Regions from separate parts of the Homo sapiens genome. Here regions 1, 2, 3, 4 and 5 are each linked to region 6. The links are contacts of gene promoters, found by promoter capture Hi-C in blood cells and fetal thymus (Javierre and others, 2016). All regions are on one chromosome and are shown on one strand. Each heading gives the region's core, a stretch centred on a gene start or on the middle of the fragment in contact. The rest is flanking DNA. Distances are from core to core; before and after follow the strand shown.

What was found. The method cuts DNA at HindIII sites, captures the fragments that hold promoters and counts their contacts. A CHiCAGO score of 5 or more calls a contact.
Region 1: a fragment that was not itself captured here is called in contact with the fragment with the promoter of PRSS8 in region 6 in 3 of 17 cell types (monocytes, neutrophils and total B cells); the score reaches 8.0 in monocytes.
Region 2: a contact is called between a fragment that was not itself captured here and the fragment with the promoter of PRSS8 in region 6, in 16 of 17 cell types (M0 macrophages, neutrophils, M1 macrophages and 13 more). The highest score is 12.7, in M0 macrophages.
Region 3: a fragment that was not itself captured here is called in contact with the fragment with the promoter of PRSS8 in region 6 in 13 of 17 cell types (monocytes, total CD8 T cells, naive CD8 T cells and 10 more); the score reaches 13.5 in monocytes.
Region 4: a fragment that was not itself captured here is called in contact with the fragment with the promoter of PRSS8 in region 6 in 2 of 17 cell types (neutrophils and monocytes); the score reaches 5.7 in neutrophils.
Region 5: a contact is called between a fragment that was not itself captured here and the fragment with the promoter of PRSS8 in region 6, in 13 of 17 cell types (M0 macrophages, M1 macrophages, M2 macrophages and 10 more). The highest score is 13.0, in M0 macrophages.

What each region holds. Positions count from the first base shown.
Region 1 is chr16:31,296,832-31,299,597 of GRCh38, reverse strand. ITGAM (integrin subunit alpha M) reads right to left here. Exons shown (of 30, transcript NM_000632.4): 13 at 1,944-2,084; 14 at 1,644-1,853. Among named protein-coding and RNA genes, the nearest start is that of ITGAM, 38 kb to the right of the region's middle. The HindIII fragment of the contact is 4,791 bases long and covers 1-2,766 here.
Region 2 is chr16:30,964,172-30,967,042 of GRCh38, reverse strand. It overlaps SETD1A (SET domain containing 1A, histone lysine methyltransferase), which reads right to left. Exons shown (of 19, transcript NM_014712.3): 6 at 2,720-2,871; 7 at 1,582-2,431; 8 at 657-1,442; 9 at 1-159. Among named protein-coding and RNA genes, the nearest start is that of SETD1A, 7.9 kb to the right of the region's middle. The HindIII fragment of the contact is 2,452 bases long and covers 396-2,847 here.
Region 3 is chr16:31,374,738-31,377,466 of GRCh38, reverse strand. It overlaps ITGAX (integrin subunit alpha X), which reads right to left. Exons shown (of 30, transcript NM_000887.5): 21 at 552-668; 22 at 388-467; 23 at 202-285. Among named protein-coding and RNA genes, the nearest start is that of ITGAD, 17 kb to the left of the region's middle. The HindIII fragment of the contact is 1,195 bases long and covers 815-2,009 here.
Region 4 is chr16:31,268,764-31,271,790 of GRCh38, reverse strand. It overlaps ITGAM (integrin subunit alpha M), which reads right to left. Exons shown (of 30, transcript NM_000632.4): 6 at 707-837. Among named protein-coding and RNA genes, the nearest start is that of ITGAM, 10 kb to the right of the region's middle. RefSeq lists an enhancer at 1-509. The HindIII fragment of the contact is 3,863 bases long and covers 1-3,027 here.
Region 5 is chr16:31,345,654-31,348,719 of GRCh38, reverse strand. No RefSeq gene overlaps it. Among named protein-coding and RNA genes, the nearest start is that of ITGAX, 8.0 kb to the left of the region's middle. The HindIII fragment of the contact is 1,480 bases long and covers 849-2,328 here.
Region 6 is chr16:31,134,386-31,137,161 of GRCh38, reverse strand. PRSS8 (serine protease 8) reads left to right here and starts at 1,435. Exons shown (of 6, transcript NM_002773.5): 1 at 1,435-1,748; 2 at 1,991-2,008. The coding sequence starts at 1,664. RefSeq lists an enhancer at 2,374-2,776. The HindIII fragment of the contact is 17,481 bases long and covers 1-2,776 here.

The DNA of each region.
Region 1 (2,766 bases), core at 142-2,641, 160 kb before region 6:
GTGGCTCACACCTGTAATCCCAGCACTTTGGGAGGCCAAGGCAGGTGGATCACTTGAGTCCGGGAGCTCAAGACCAGCCTGGACAACATGGCAAAACCCAGTCTCTACAAAAAATACAAAAATTAGCCAGGCATGGTGGTGCATGCTTGTAATCCCAGCTACTCAGGAGGCTGAGAGAGGAGAATCGCTTGAACCCAGGAGGTAAGGTTGCAGTGAGCCGAGATTGTGCCACTGCACTCCAGCCTGGGCGACAGACTGAAACTTTTGTCTCAAAAACTAAAAAAAAATAAAACAGCCAAACTCATTGAAGCAAAGAATATAATGGTGGCTGCCAGAGGCTAGAGAACAATGAGGAGTTGCTAATCAATGGGTATACATTTTCAATATGCAAGATGAAGTTCAAGAGGTCTGCTGTACAACATTGCACCAATAGATGACAGTATTACATTGTACATTTTAAAATCTGTTAAGAGGATAGGTCTCATGTTAAGTGCCCTTACCACAATAAAAAAATTTTTAAACATAAAGAAAGAAAAATGTAAGGCTAGCAAAAACCCAGAGACCAGAGGCCAGAAAACTAGATGGTCTCAGGTGGCTATGGTGGGAAAGAATATGAACAGGGAAGATGGAACCAGACTGTAAGGGTCCCTCCAGACAGTGGGCTCCACCTGGCAGGAGACAGAAAGCCAACTTACAGAGCAAAACAGTTGTCAGGTCCAGAATATAGGGTGACAAGTCATCAGGATGGGCTCCATGCTTTGCAAGACCCAATGCAAAAAAACGTAGGACCCCTTGTTGAAAAATTACTAAGAATTGAAGATGGCAATAGCAGAGCATTAAGCCAAGCACAGGGCGATTCTGAGAGAGGGGCACGTGTGACTGCACAATTCCACATCTGTGAAGTGTGCAATCCCGTAAGGTGGCCAACCGCATAGGTTTCCCAGGATGTGGGATTTCAGTACTAAATCTGGGACAGAGTTAAGCAAACTAGAGCTCTTGGTCACCTTACCAGGACCGAGATTCAGAAGAAAGGAATGCCTGCATCCCAATACTGCTAGCTTGCCATTTGCCATCGCTGGGCCTTGATCTACTCATCTGTAAAGTGGGGGTGATGAGGCTATCATGCACCTCCTATTGCTGTAGAAATAATCAATCTGGAACTAAGAGTCTTTGAGATTTCTGTGAATGTGTGTGTGTGTGTGCACGTGCACGCATGCATGTGCAAGTCTGACTCTGTCACTCTGGCTGCTGGAGTACAGTGGTGTGACCAGGACTCACTGCAGCCTCAACCTCCCAGGCTCAAGTAATCCTCCGGCCTCAGCCTCCAGAGTAGCTGGGACCATGGGTGTATGCCACCACACCTGGCTAATTTTTTTTTTTTTTTTTTTTTTTTGGAGAGATGGGTTCTCACCATGTTGCCCTGACTGGTCTTGAGCTCCTGGGCTTAAACAATCCTCCCAACTCAGCCTTCCAAAGTGCTGGGATTACAGGCGTCAGCCACCAGGCCCAGCCACATGTTATTATTTTTGAAGGTTCTGAAAGGAGTACTGTGAGAACTTATCTGGCAGCTGTGGGCACACTGAATTAGGAGAAAGATCAACAAAGAGGCTACTGTCATGACAAGGACAGTGACCAGGTCTCACCTGGCTATGGGAGGGGCTGATGCCAGATCCTGAGGTTCCGTGAAACAGGTAAACAGCACCCCGGTTGTCCTCCTCTCCTGGGGCCCCAATGGCCACGTCCGTCAGCTTGTCCCCATTTACGTCCCCCAGCACTGTTAGGGCTGCCCCAAAGCGGCCCCAGGGTTGGCCCTGCTCCCCGTAGAGAACAGCATCACACTGCCACCGAGCCCTCTGCTAAACACAAACAGTATCAGGCCCCAACCCAGGCGACCCCTCCACCCACACCGGGCCCCACCCAGCCCAGGTCCCATTGCCACTCACCCCCCTGGGCAAGGGGCACACGGACACCTGGCCCCCTCGGGTCTGCTCGTAGTAATGGGGGGCCCCGATGAGGACCAGGTCGGTGCTGCCGTTGCTGTCCACGTCCACGGAGCAGAGGGAGGCCCCGAAGTAGGCGCCGATCTGAAAGAGACAGGACCGTAATCACACACCTCTTCCCACCTAAAGCAGATGTGGAGGTTTTCTCTCTCTGAAGAAAAGTTATGCCTGCTGGGGGAATCCCTCTGGAGCAGATGTGATCTTCTATATGGTTCATGATAAATTATCACTTGAATGTGCTGCCAGCTAAAGGAACCTATATAATAAGCCTGGCAGAATGGTTTCTGCCTGTAATCCCAGCTCCTCGGGGGGCTGAAGTGGGAGGATCCCTTGAGCCAAGGAGTTTAAGGCTGCAGTGAGCTTTGTCACCACTGCACTCCAGCTTGGGCAACAGAGCAAGATCCCAATCTCTAAGTGTATATATATATTTTTTAATAATTTAAAAGATAAAAAATAAGCCTATAGTAGAGTCAATGGGCAGTGAGTGAGGATTTACTCCAGGTGGTATTCCTGGGAGATTATTAAGGCAGCAAAGAAGAATTTGGGTTGGAAAATACATAGAAAATTCTAGAAGAGAAGACAGAATACCACCCTTTCAATATATTGGGAATCTTTAGGGAGGTAAAAAGTCAAAGTTGGCACTCTGACTAATAAGGCTAATAACTGGCTTAGATTAAAAATAACTATTTGTTATTTGAATATTTGTTGTGATATTAAGAAATATCTTCAAGGTCAATATGTAGAATTCATCCATAAAATTCACCTA
Region 2 (2,871 bases), core at 372-2,871, 170 kb after region 6:
CAGGGCCCCTCTCAGCCCTGACCCAAAGGCGAAAGCCTCGATGCCCGTAGTGCCCCCGCTCTTGGCCCAGTCCACGAGGGACAGCAGGCCAGGCTCCTTCAGCTTCGTCTTCTCTTTATCCTCCTCCTTGGCTTGCTGCTTGGCCGCGTTCTGGAATGGCTGCAGGCAGCAGTGGGGCTGAGCCCCAGCGCCCAGAACCCAGGCATTCCCTCCTGCCTGAGACCTACTCCCGGACCCCAGGAATACAGAACGCATCTACTTGCTGCTCCATATCTTGGTCACACCTGTCCCAGCCCCCGCACGGCATTTTCTCAAAAGTCTGTCATTTCGCCCACCAGTCTTAAGAAATAGCCACCATTCCCACTTCACAAGTGGCAAAATGGAAGACCAAAGCTTGAAGAGAGCTAAGGGCCTTGTCCACTGCAAGCCAGCAAGGAATGGAGCCAGGACAAAGCTCTGCTGCCTCCCAGGCCCATCTGTGCCTGCTTCTCTGTCCCCTCAACTCCCCTGCCCACCCAGGGTGGCCTGCAGGGCCTGCGGCCTCTCTCCACTCGCCTCCATCACCTGTCTCCTCTGAGCTGTGCAGCCTGGAGGAGCCAGAGGCCCATTTCCTCCTGCAAAGCCCAGGGCTCCCCGGTCCCAGGCGCTGGCCTCACCTTGGCCTTCTCCTCCTTGCTCTCCCACCACTGGTCAAAGGCTCCGAAGGCCACGTTCTCCACCATCTTGCGGTTGAGGTCTCGCTGCATGATGCTCTTCATCTCCTGGACCAGCATGGCGAGCACACGGCCCACGGTGCCTGCTGTCGGGAGGGTCTTGCCCTCTGCCAGCTCTGCTTCTTCCCTGGGTGGCAGCCGGGCCTCCTCTCCCGAGACTGAGGAGGAGGGCAGGGGCTCGGCTGCCATTGGCATGGGCAGGTGGTAGGCCTCCCGTGAGTATGCCCCTCTGCCCTCCTGCCCCTGTGCATATAGAGCATACGGCAAGCCGTAGGCTGCCTCCTGCGGGGGTGGAAACGGGAGGAAGGCCTCCCCAAAGGCCCCACCGGGGGGGCCAGCTGAGGCGGCAATCAATCCCTTGCCCTGCCGCAGCTGATGGAGCCGAGTTAACATCTGGGTCTGCATCTGGAAGGACATGGGCATCCCTCCCCACTGAGCCCCAAGTCGGTCCATGAGCTCCAAGGAGTTCACAAAGTCATAGATGTGCGGGGGTGGTGGAGGAGGTGGGGGGTACTCAGGGGGCGGCGGCCCATCAGGTCTGGGTGGGAGGAGGTAGGCAGGTTGGTGGGGAGGATAACCAAGAGGAAGGGACGCCAGGTAGGGAGGAGGAGGCGGCGGGGGAGGGGGAGGTGGCGGAGGCTGCTGAGGGGGCGTCGGGGCCGGAGGGGGTGAGCCACCCCGGTCGTCGTCGGAGATCTCCATGTCGTCTCCAGAAGAGCATGGAGAAGCCTGCGGGGGCAGAAGAGGGTCACAGAAGGCTTCTGCCTGACCCAAGCCCTACTTTCTCATCTGGTTCCCTTCCCTCTCCCCTAGGCCCAACCCTGACTCCCAGAGCCCAGGTGCCTCCTCTGGCTGACCCCAACCTCACCTGGTTCTGTCCATTTGCCTTGGGAGACTCCCGGGTAGCCCCTGGCTCCCCGCTCCCTGTAGGTGCCACATCCTCAAAATTAGCTGGGGCCGGAGGGGGTGTGCAGGGCCCATGCCCTGACCCAGAAGGCACCTCACTCCCTGTATCTCTGGCCCCAAGGACCATGCTGCTGTTCTCTTCCTCCTCCTCTGTGTCAGAGGCCAAGAAGGAAAACTTGGAGCGCTGCTCCTTCAGCAGCATCTCGATGCGGGAATCCAGGCTGCTGTGCTGGGCGAAGGGCACACTCTCATTGGTGGTCTCCGGGGCTGGGGAGCCAGAGCGGGCAGGGGAGGCTGGGCGGGGGGAAGTCCGAACTTCTTCTCTCTCAGGGCTGGGCCCTCCTCCACCCCCGCCTCCACCAGGTTCTGGAGGCTCCGGGGGTGGAGCCTCTGAGGCAGGAGGCCGGTAGTCCTGGTCGGTGGGCCGGCTGGGCTCGGGGGGCAGGTAGGAGGTGTAAGAAGGTGGGAAGCGCTCAGCTGTATTTTCAGCAAAAGGGGCTCCAGGGGGTTCCTCCCGTGTGGCCCGGCGTGGTGGGTAGGAAGTATGGCGCTGGTAGCGATTCCAGCTTTCATAATACGCTGGGTAGTTTGCATCAGAACTACGAAACTGAGAGGACGAGGAGGAAGAGGATGACGAGGAGGACGAGGACAATGAGGAGGAAGAGGCGGAGGATGAGGCAGTGGCTGCAGTGGTGGCGGCGATGGCCGTGGAGGCGGTTGTGGAGGCTGAAGATGCAGAGAAGTGGCGGCGGGAAAAGGCATCTTGGTAGCTGTTCTCTGACCGCCGGGGCTTGAAGGAGGTTGAAGTGGTGCTGGAGAAGAAGCAGGGGAGTTAGCTGGACTCAGCTCTCTATGACCAAACCACAGCGTACTGGGTCCCAGGGCCCAAAGCCCCTCTATGCTGCCCTCCAAAAGAAGAGCTATATGTTGGGTTCCTAGCTAGTGTGTTCCCCGAGGACAGCAATTTGTTGACTGAATCCACAGAGAAACTAGGACAAATTATTTCCAACTCCCTCTTGGAGACAGACTCTGGGCATCTTCTTCCCAGTGGCAGCTCCCAGACTTTGCGGGCGGGGCCCCAGGCGGGGTCTGCTCTGTACCTGCTGGAGTAGGCAGAGTCCTGAGAGTAGGGGGTGCTGCCCCGAGACGTGTAGGGGGTTCCTTGGGAGGACTGAGGTGTGAACTGGCCAAAGGAAGATGGGGTATCTTGTCGGCTGCTGGAGAAGCTTGTGTCCTGGGAGCAGGGGGTGCC
Region 3 (2,729 bases), core at 163-2,662, 240 kb before region 6:
AAATAACCACAGCACCCTGCCTGGCACACAGCAAATTCGAGGAAGGCATTGGCTGAAGGAAGGTGTCTGCTGAAACACCTGACCTTTTAGTTTCAAACACCTTATCTCACCCTCTGTGGCAGCGTTTCAAGGCCTTTTTTTTTTTTTCTTTTTGAGGTCAGAGAGAAGAACCCTTTTTCCTGCAGTGGGGTACCTGCTGACCTGCTAACCACAGTGTAGACAGCATACTTCACCGGGAGCTCCAGCTGGAAGGTGGTCTTGCTGGTCCTGGGAGTGTTGTTCTCACTGGAGAAAGAGGAGAGACTCAGTTGCCAGAGGCCCCAGAGGAGGAGAATGGGGTGTGAGGCTGGAGATGAGGGGCACTGCCCCTGGCCTGGCCCGGCTCACCTGCTCACATTGGCTGTCAGAAGCAGCCGGTCTCCCAGGACAGCCTTGGGGGAGACGTCAAAGGTAGCCAAGAAGGTGATCTGAGGAAAAGGAACTGAGAGGTCACAGAGCAGTAAAGACAGGGTGGGGCAGGGGAGCAGTGAGGGGACAGAAGCCAGGCTGACCTGGGCGCCGCCACGGAAGATGAGGTGGTTGATTCTGCAGCTGGTGCTCCAGGTGCCCTGGCTCCCAACTGGGGCGCTGTCACATGTCAGGTGCAGGGAACGCAGCTGCCCTTGTTTCTAGGCATGAGAAAAAGTAGAGGAGTATTAGTTGAAATTGAAAGCAATGGCAAAAACCCAATTACTTTTGCACCAACCTAATATAACAGCATTCCAAAGACACGCCACGAAGTAGTGATAAAGCTTCCTGGAGCCCACCTTAAGCTTATGTTTTTGTTTGTTTGTTTGTTTTTTGAGACCAGGTCTCACTCTGTCACCCAGGCTAGAAAGCAGTGATGCAATCACAGCTCACTGCAGCCTCAAACTCTGGCCTCAAGCCATCCTCTTGCCTCAGCCTCCTGAGTAGCTAGGACTACAGGCACACACCACCACCATGCCTGGCTAATTTTAAAAAAATTTTTTTATAAATGGGACCTCGCTATATTGCCCAGGCTGGTCTTGAACTCCTGGCCTCAAGCAATCCTCCCATCTTGTCCCCCCAAAACACTAGGATTACAGGTATGAGCCACCATGTCCAGCCAAGGTTACGTTTTTAAAAGCTCCCCCATAGCTATCTGGTCAAACTTTCTTCCAAAGTAGAAATCTCAAATGTATTAAAATGTTCACCTTTTTATTGTTATTTTAAAGGCCTCTTATAATGGAAAATTTAAAACACATTAAAAAATAGAGAGACTGGAAAATCAACCCCATATAACCATCACTCATTTTAAGTAACCAACATTTTTCTACTCTTGTTTCTGCTATGTTCTCTTTCTGAACACTTTAAAGCACATTCCAAACACCATATTGTTTCATCTAGAAATACTTCAGTGTATACCACCAATAGATAAGGGTATTTTAAATGTAACCACAAGAACCAACAAATCACAGCCAACAAAATTAACAATTACTCCTTAATATACCAATATACTGGTCATGTTCTATTTTCTTAGATTGTCTCCAAAAATGTTATTTTACAGCTCATTTGTTAAAATCAATATTCAGCAAAGGTCCACCCATTACATTTGGTTGATATGTCTAGGAGCACTTTCATTGACAGTGATCACCCCTCACATGCAAGAGATGGCCTTTCCTGCTGTGTTCTTTTATACGTTAATCAAAATGCGCTTCCGCTGGGAATATTAGACTAAGAGAGACAGCAGAAATAACAACCAACCATCATGTATGGACCTAGTTCGAATTTTCGTTCAAATAGACCAGAAGTAAAAAGATATTTTTGAGACAGTTACACAATTTTGACTATGATCTTAATACCAAGGAATCACTTATTTCATTGGGTGTGATAATGGTGTTGAGGTCATATAAGAGGTCCTCATTGTTCAGAACTATAGAGTGTGTCTTTGTCTGTTCCCTGCTGCTATAACAGATTACCGCAAACTAGGTAATGTATCAATAGAAGCTTTGTGGTTCTGGAGGCTGGGAAGTCCAAGAACATGGCACCAGCATCTGGTGAGGGCCTTTGTGCTGCATGTGCAAGGCAGTGCATGTGAGAGTGAGAGGGAAAGGGGGCCAAACTCATCCTTTAATTAGAAACCCACTCCTGGGCTAGGCTCCGTGGCTTACGCCTGTAATCCTAGTACTTTGGGAGGCCGAATCGGGTGGATCATTTGAGGTCAGGAGTTCAAGACCAGACTGCCCAACATGGTGAAACCCCATCTCTACTAAAAATGCAAAACTTAGCTGGGCGTGGCAGTGGGCACCTGTAATCCCAGCTACTCAGGAGGCTGAGGCACAAGAATTGCTTGAATTCGGGAGGCAGAGGCTGCAGTGAGCCAAGATCGTGCCACTGCACCCTAGCCTGGGCAACAGAGCAAGACCCTCTCAAGGAAAGAAAGAAAGAAGGAAAAGAAAGAAAGAAAAAGAAAGAAGAAAGGAAGGAAGGAAACCCACTCCTGAAATAACTAATCTACTCTTGAGATAATAGTATTCATCCATTCATGAGGGCAAAGCCCTCATAACCTAATCACCTTTAAAAGGTTTCACCTTTCAACACTGTTGCATTGGGGATTAAGTGTCCAACACACGAACATTGGGTGATGCATTCAAACCATAGCAGAGTGAATAAGGAGGAGTACAATGACCCCCATGTCTGAGATTTGTTTTAAAATACTTTAGCAGGTC
Region 4 (3,027 bases), core at 478-2,977, 130 kb before region 6:
CTCCCAGCAAGCTCCACGAAGATCTTAAACACTCCACTCTCCAAATTCCTCCTCTGTGCTGCCCCTAATCCCCTGCCTCACCAGGACGGAGAGCTGCCAGCAGCTCCCATCTCTCCTCAATACTAGAACACGGCCAGCGGCCGGGAGCAGTGGCTCACACCTGTAATCCCAGCACTTTGGGAAGCCGAGGCGGGTGGATCACCTGAGGTCAGGAGTTTGAGACCAGCCTGGCCAAAATGGTGAAACCCCGTCTCTACTAAAAATACAAAAACTAGCCAGGCATGGTGGCATGCGCCTGTAATCCCCGCTACTCGGGAGGCTGAGGCAAGAGAATTGCTTGAACCCGGGAGGCGGAGGTTGCAGTGAGCCAAGATCACACCACTGCACTCCAGCCTGAGAGAAAGAGTGAGATTCTGTCTCAAAAAAATAAGAAATAAAAATGAAAATAGAACTCAGCCAGCAATGACACGTGGGCTTCATCTCCCATGCCAACCTTAACAATTAGAGCTGCCCGCTTTATAAAAGGCTGAAAGAATGCTGAGGCTGCATCCAACAGAGCAGAAAAGAGACTCAGGAAGGCAAACCATAATCGATCGTCAATTTGGCAATGTCTGCAGTTGAACTGGGAGGAGAACATGGTGGCCCGGTTGCCATGTATCTTCCAGCCCCGTGTGGGCTCTTCCCTAACCTACCCCTGGGCCCTCACCAAGGTTTTGGACTTTTTTAATTGCTCCATCACAGTTGAGACAAACTCCTTCATCCGCCGAAAGTCATGTGGGATGATGCTACCAGAGCCATCAATCAAGAAGGCAATGTCACTATCCTCTTGAGGACACCCTGGGGAAGGGGAAAAGAGTATGAATCAAGTAATTTGACACTTGGTGTTTTGGGTTTTTTTGCATGTCAGCCCTCTGCTGAACAATGAGAATATAGGACCCCGTCTCTATAAAAAATATAGATGTTAAATATATATATAAATTATGTATAATATATATATAATTTTTAACGTGTGTGTATATATATATATGTATACACACGTTAAAAACATATATATATATATATATATATATATATATATATATATATATATACACACACACACGTTAAAAATTAGTCAGGCATGTTGGCACATGCCTGTAGTCCCAGCTACTCAGGAGGCTGAGGGTGGGGGATCACTTCAGCCCAAAAGGTTGAGGCTTCAGTGAGCTATGATCACGCCATTGCACTCCAGCCTGGGCCACAGAGAAAGACCCTGTCTCTTAAAAATAAATAAATAAGTAAATAAACAAGGACAAAGTGGTATGGAAAATTTTCGTTAATTCTGCCCAAGGGAATCAGGGAATGTGGTGATGTTTGACTGAATCTTGAAGAACAGGAAATAATTTGCCCAGCTGGGCGAGGTGGCTCACACCTGTAATCCCAGCACTTTGGGAGGCTGAGGCAGGTGGATCACTTGAGATCAGGAGTTTGAGACCAGCCTGGCTGACATGGTGAAACCCTATCTCTATTAAAAATACAAAAAGTAGCTGAGATCGCACCACTGCACTCCAGCCTGGGTCACAGAGCAAGACTTCGAAGAAAAGGAAGAAAGGAAGAAAAAAAGGAAAGGAAAGGAAAGGAAAGGAAAGGAAAGGAAAGGAAAGGAAAGGAAAGCAAAGGAGGAAGGAAGGAAGGAAGGAAGGAAGGATTTGCCAGATATACAAAAGGAGTAGATTCTAGAAAAGGGAAGGGCACACACATATAAAGTGATGTGGAATGTGCTCCTCTGCCTTCTGCCCCATCCCCAAATCCACTTTCTACCCATTGCCGCTCAGCTCTGTGGCCTGGGAGGTCAACCTGCAGGGACCCCATCACCAGGACTCTGTTGCCCTCTGGATTCCCATTGGATTTGGCAGATGAGGGGGCTCAACAGAAGACTAGAGGGAGGAGGGCAGTGAGGTCCGGGTGTTCTCCCATTGAGGTTGTTTGGGGACAGCTATGTCCTTCACAAAAGACCAACTGTTCCTCAGAAGGAAGCCAGCTCCACATGACTCTCTCCAGACCCTGGTGAGCTCTCCCTCTCCTCAACCCATAAACCCAGGGGTGGCAACAGACCTGCTTGCCCAGGGCTTGGAAAGTCCCTGATGGCTCCCTTAGGCCTGTCACAGCTTTATAATTACTCCCTTTATAAATAAACCCCCCTCTTTGTAAATAAATCTTACTGAAACCGCCTTTGCAAAATTATGACTGAGACAGTGAAAGAGATCTAACTTAACTGATTCCATCTTGCTTCTAACCTCCAAGCTGTCCGTGTTCATTCCTGGGTGTAGGCTGAGCTAACTTTGGGAGACACTTAGTTTATAGTTTATAGTTTATAGTTTAAACAAAGATCGTAACAGCCCTTTCCCAAAGCAGACCTCCTTCTTACCTGGGGACTAGATTGCCTTTGTAGGACTAACGTTAGCCACAAGATGAGAAATTATGATTTAGGAGTCATGCAGCTGGAGGCTACAAGATTCTGACCCTCCCTAAACTGCTCCTAAAATCAGTGCTTGAGATATTTTGCAGACCTTGCACTTGATGGATCAGCTGGCACTGCCCAGATCAATAAACTGGTTCATCCGATCTTGCTGCCCCCACCCAGGAACCAACTGAACGCAAGAAGACAGCTCCGACTCCCGATGATTTCATCCCTGATCAATCAGCACTCCCAGCTCACTGGCTTCCCCCGCGACCTACCAAGTTATCCTCAAAAACTCTGCCCCCAAATGCTCGAGGAGACTGATTCGAGTGATAATAAAACTCTGGTCCCCTGCATAGCTGGCTCTGTGTGAATTATTCTTTCTCTATCGCAATTCTGCTGTCTTGATGAATCGGCTCTGTCTAGGCAGCAAGCAAGGTGAACCCCTTGGGCAGTTACATTACTGGAATGTGCTTTTGGTCCCAGTTGAGACTCCTACTGATATATGGGACAAGGGCCTCAAAAGGATTCTGGCAGAATCCAGGAATGCCGTTTGATGGAAACAGCACTACAGGGACAAACGTATG
Region 5 (3,066 bases), core at 339-2,838, 210 kb before region 6:
GAGAAACTGGGGAAGAAGGGAGAGAAGAGGAAAGATTATAGAAAAGAGGTGGTCACAGAAGGGGGCTTGGGTTTGCAGTGTTGGTGACAACACCCACACCTTCCATTTGAAGGCTTCCATTTGAAGGTGGAGGCTTCCCTCCACCCACCCATCCACCTGTTCACCCATCCACCCACCCATCTGCCCATCCACCCTCCACCCCATCCTTCCATCCGTCCACTTGTCCACACACAAACCCATCCACCCTCCCATCACCCATCCGTCCTACACCCACAGACAGGAACTGACCCCTGGTTGTATCTGCTCAGTGTCCAATGCCCATCATTGGAGAGACAAGGAGAAGAAAGCAGGATAGAGTGGGGAAAGAGGCTAAGTGACAAGGAGCTCTCCCCTGACCCTGACTCCAGCCTGGTCCCCGGAAGCTGTGAGCATGAATGGGTCCTTCCTTGAGGCTGAAGTGTGGCCCTTGGTTCTCCCCGGGTGGGTCAGTCATTGACCACCAGCCATTCTTCCCCACTTCCTCTAGCTTATCCCACTGCCACACAGAAGAAGGGGCTACTCCCCTGCAGGCAAGACCATTCCCCAGAGATTGGGGGCACTTGTGAGCCTTGAGCATCAACACAGCAACTGAGAAATTGGTGTTAACCCAATGTTAACCCTCCAAGCAAGAGTTTTTAAGGGCGAGGTACATTTCAGGAAAGCAGAAGTTACAGGCAAAATCATAAACCAATACCTGGAGGTTATACATTAGTTTGGCCTAAAAAGCCAGGATATCTTGAAGCAAGGCTTACAAGTCATACATGGGTTCAAAGATTCTTTGATTTGCAATTGGTTAAGGAAGGAAAGCTTCATCTAAAAACTTGGGGTCAGCAGGAAGGAATATTAAGGTCTGGCCTATGGGAGTGACTGTCTCTCCAGGGCCCTCAGGAAGAAATTTAGAGCAAAGAATAGTGATCAGAGTTCAGTCTTCACTTCCTCCTTATCAGTGGCCTACATACCAGCAGATGGCATTTTCCATCTGGGGGTGATATGGTTTGGATTTGTGTCCCCACTCAAATCTCATGTTGGATTATAATCTGCAGTGTTGGAGGAGGGGCCTGGTGGGAGGTGATTGGACCATGGGTGCGGATTTCTCCCTTGCTGTTCTCGTGATAGTGAGTGAGTCATCACAAGATCTGGTTGTTTAAAAGTGTGTAGCACCTCGCCCTGGTCTGTCTTCTTTCCTTCTCCAGCCGTGTAAGACATGACTCCTTCCTCTTCGCCTTCCACCATGACTGTAAGTTTCCTGAGGCCTCCCCATCCATGCTTCTTATAATGCCTGAGGAACCATTAGCCAATTAAATCTCCTTTCTTTATAAATTACCCGGTCTCAGGAAGTTCTTTGTAGCAATGCAAGAACGGACTAATACAGTGGGGGTCCAGGTTTCTGAAAAACAACTCAGGGATGTACGTTAAAACCCTTGGTTTTCTGGGGAACCACACATCTTGTGGCTCTCACTTCCTTGGCTATTGTTTGAAGTGACTGTTATCTTCTTGCTTACCGGGCTGCTCATATACTTCTCCAGATTAGCAAGGTGCCTGGAATTCTCCTTGAAGAAACTCAAGATTTTTCTTTATTTCCATGTGTAGGGGAACCCAGCAGGCCTCTGAAACGGATCCACGCTCAGTCTCAGGCACAGACAACATCTAGTGACCACAGAATGATTTCATCTTAATCCCTTTTTAGGGTAAAAGGAGGGAGTGAGAGAATCCCTAGGAAGGTGGGGTGAGAGAACAGAACAGGGCAGAAATCCAGGGTCTCTGTGAGAACTTGAACCAGTGGGGCCGTGCCTGGGAGGGGCTGGGCTGGAGATGCCTGTGTGAATTAAGAGAGGGAGAATTCCAAAGAGGAGGAGTAAGGCAGGGTCATCCCACTCAGCTTCTCTCTCCTGGCCCTGGCATGGTAGCAGGATTGGTCTCAACAGGCAAATGCGTATATGGCAGAACTTGGCAACCAATGCATTCCGTTCACATTCACTCAGCCCAGCCTGCAGAGGGATCTTATCCTTTAATGGCAGTGGGGCATAGGGGGCAGATAAGGGGAAGGATTTTAGCAATTGTTCAAGTCTGCGCCAAGATGGGAATGCCCACAGAGGAAGCAGAAAGGAAATTGCTCTATTGATCTATTTATCACAGTAGCTGGACCAGAGGATTGCGGAAAGACACAAAGACCAACCAAATGAGAACAGGCGAAGTCTATTTATTCAAAGCTGGCTCTAGCAAGGGAGTCAGTGGCCATCACTGGTGTTTTGGCAGAGACTCAAAAATGGGCAGTACAGTAGGAAAGCTTTGTAGTGGAAACTGGGAAGTCTTCAGGGATGCCCCAAGTAGAAGCTGCTGGCCTGGGAAGCTGTATGTGGCTCACTGGAAGCGGGCATCCTGTGCAATTGACTAGGGGACATATTTGGCTTTGTCTGGTTGGTCCTAAGTTGGAAGTAGGGACAAAAATTAGGGAAGCCATCAGTTATTGATTAAGTCCTGGACATGGGGCTGATTGTTAGTTATTGATAGGCTTCCTGGGCTGGTTGCTGCAGGCTGGGGGGCAGATGTCTATTTTTATGTCTAGTCTGACCACTATCCCTTTGTATATTCAGTCTCTTGGACTCTAGAAAATGTGAAGTATGCCAGGTGCGGTGGCTCATGCCTGTAATCCCAGCACTTTGGGAGGCAGAAGCAGGAGGATCACTTGAGCTCAGGAGCTCAAGACCAGCCTGGGCAACACAGCAAGACCCTGACTTTACAAAAATTTAAAAATTAGGCTAGTACTGGCTGGGCACGGTGGCTCACACCTGCAATGCCAGCACTTTGGGAGGCTGAGGTGGGCAAATCACGAGGTCAGGAGTTCAAGACCAGCCTGACCAACATGGTGAAACCCCGTCTCTACTAAAAATACAAAAATTAGCCAGGCGTGGTAGCGGGTGCCTATAATCCCAGCTACTCAGGAAGCTGAGGAAGGAGAATTGCTTGAACCCAGGAGGCGGAGGTTGCAGTGAGCTGAGATCGTGCCATTGCACTCCAGCCTGGATG
Region 6 (2,776 bases), core at 186-2,685:
GGGTTTCACCATGTTGTTCAGGATGGTCTCAAACTCCTGACCTCGTGATTCGTGTGCCTTGGCCTCCCAAAGTGCCGAGATTAGAGGCGTGAGCCACCACACCCAGCCTCAACAGGTGTTTTGAACGGCCAGAGTGGCCCTCAAGGAGGATACATGCCTCACTCCCACCGCAGCCACACGGCAAGCCTTCTTTCCCTGAGCCTCTGCCCTCTGCACCCCATCCCCCCATCTTCGCCTTACCACCTTTTATAATCCCTTTCGGTCTCAGTTTCCAAGGCAATTCCTCGAGGACCCTTTCACAATGCCAGCCTTTGCCAGGCTGTGGTGTGCTCACGCCATTCTTTTTCATCACTATTCCTAGCTTGAAATTATTGTGTAATTGCAATTTTTTTTTTTAAGACAGGGTCTCCCTCTGTTGCCCAGGCTGGAGTGCAGTGGCGTGATCATAGCTCAATGCTTCGTTGAACTCCTGGGCTCAAGCAATCCTCCTGCCTCAGCCTCCCAAATAGCTGGAACCATAGGCATGCGCCACAATGCCTGCCTAATTTTTATATTTCTTTGTAGAGATGAGGCCTCGCTATATTCCCCAGGCTGGTCTGGAACTCCTGGCTTCAAGTGATGCTCCAGCCTCAGCCTCCCAAAGCCGACTAGCCACCTTGCCAGCCTGTTTGTGATTATTTGATTGAAGTGTGTCACCCCTACTTCACCATGAGCTCAGGGCTCAAGGGGGACGGGGCTGGTGCCTGTTTTGTCCTGGACACCTGGGAACATCATAGGCACTTAGGAAATGTCTGTGGGATGATTGGTGCTGCTCCACAAGCTCGCCACCACCCATGAGGTGCAGGCATCGCAGAAAGGGCCTGGCAGGGGACAGACCATAGTGTCTTAAGCTCCCATAACCAGCCTAAGGAGGGAGGGAAGAAGGGAGGAGTGGCTGTGGCTCCAGATAATAAAAGCTGGGGCCAGGCCCTGGGGGGCATAACTGGCCTGAGATAACCTGAAAGACCTGAGGCGGAGGAGAGTCGTCACATTCCAGGGAGACTGCACACACACACAAACCACATGCACGTGCATGCACGCACACTCAGACACACACACTACACACACAGGGACACACACAGCCTACACATGTGCACATACAGCCTGTACATGCACACACACACACATACCACACCACATAAGAGGACACACACAGCCTACACAGGCATACACACACACCACATACACACTACACACCGGGACACACACACAAAAGGCCTATGCATGTGCACACACATACACACGGACACATACATGCACACACACGGGCCTGCAGCTCTGAAAGGACTCATGACTTTGGTGGCAAGAGGAGCTGGCGGAGCCCAGCCAGTGGGCGGGGCCAGGGGAGGGGCGGGCAGGTAGGTGCAGCCACTCCTGGGAGGACCCTGCGTGGCCAGACGGTGCTGGTGACTCGTCCACACTGCTCGCTTCGGATACTCCAGGCGTCTCCCGTTGCGGCCGCTCCCTGCCTTAGAGGCCAGCCTTGGACACTTGCTGCCCCTTTCCAGCCCGGATTCTGGGATCCTTCCCTCTGAGCCAACATCTGGGTCCTGCCTTCGACACCACCCCAAGGCTTCCTACCTTGCGTGCCTGGAGTCTGCCCCAGGGGCCCTTGTCCTGGGCCATGGCCCAGAAGGGGGTCCTGGGGCCTGGGCAGCTGGGGGCTGTGGCCATTCTGCTCTATCTTGGATTACTCCGGTCGGGGACAGGTAAGTGAGGACGTGGGGGCAGGGTGGGGACAATGCACTGGAGGGAGCCGGCGTGATCATTTTCTGGGGTGTGCCCTTGTCTGGGGCCCAAGAAAACCCCCGGCCTCCCTAGCTCTTGGCCTCTCTTTCCCACCTTGGCTCTGTCAGGGAAGGGGCCAGCCCTCTGGAGCAGTGGTGGGTACTAAGGGGTCAGGGAACCCGAGTCTTCCCTACTCACCCCTCCTCTTTCTCTTTCTTTCTAGGAGCGGAAGGGGCAGAAGGTGAGACTTTCCTCGGAGAGGGAGGAGGGGAGGGGGAGGTGACTTGGATCGGATTCCCCTGGGGTTTAACCAGTGCCTGGCCTTCAGCTGGGCTGCCTTCCAACTAGATTCTCTTAGGGCTCCCAGAGTGGGGGGTTTTAGCCCTCACCTTATGGGCAGAGAAGCAGGGACTTGCCCAGGGCACACTGCCAGTGAAGGTGCAGCTGGGATTCAGATCCACGTCTGACTCCCAAAGTGGGGCAATCGAGGTGGTTTTTTTGGTTTGGTTTTTGTCTTTTGAAACAGGGTCTGGGTCTGTCGTCACCCAGGCTGGAGTGCAGTGGCCCGATCGCAGCTCACTGCAGTCTCAGTGATCCAGCCTCCCGGGCTCACGTGATCCTCCCACCTCCCCACCTCAGCCTCCCTAGTGGCTGGGACTACAGGTGCATGCCATCACACCCAGCTAGTTGTGTTTTGTTTTTGTTTTTGTTTTTGTTTGGTAGAGATGTGGGTCTCACTATGTTGGCCGGGCAGGTCTTGAACTCCTGGGCTCAAGCGATCCTCCTGCCTTGGCCTCTCAAAGTGCTGGGATTACAGGTGTGAGCCACCGTTCCCATCCTGGAGGTGGTTTTGAGGGAACCAAACCAAGGGTCTCCTTTCTTGGAAGGCACCCAACCCAGCTCTGAGTCAGACCGGCTTTCAATCCTGGCTTCCCCATGCACTGGCTGTGTGTCATTGGCCAAGTCCCCCCACTTCTCTAAGCCTTAGACTCCTCACCTCTAAAATGAA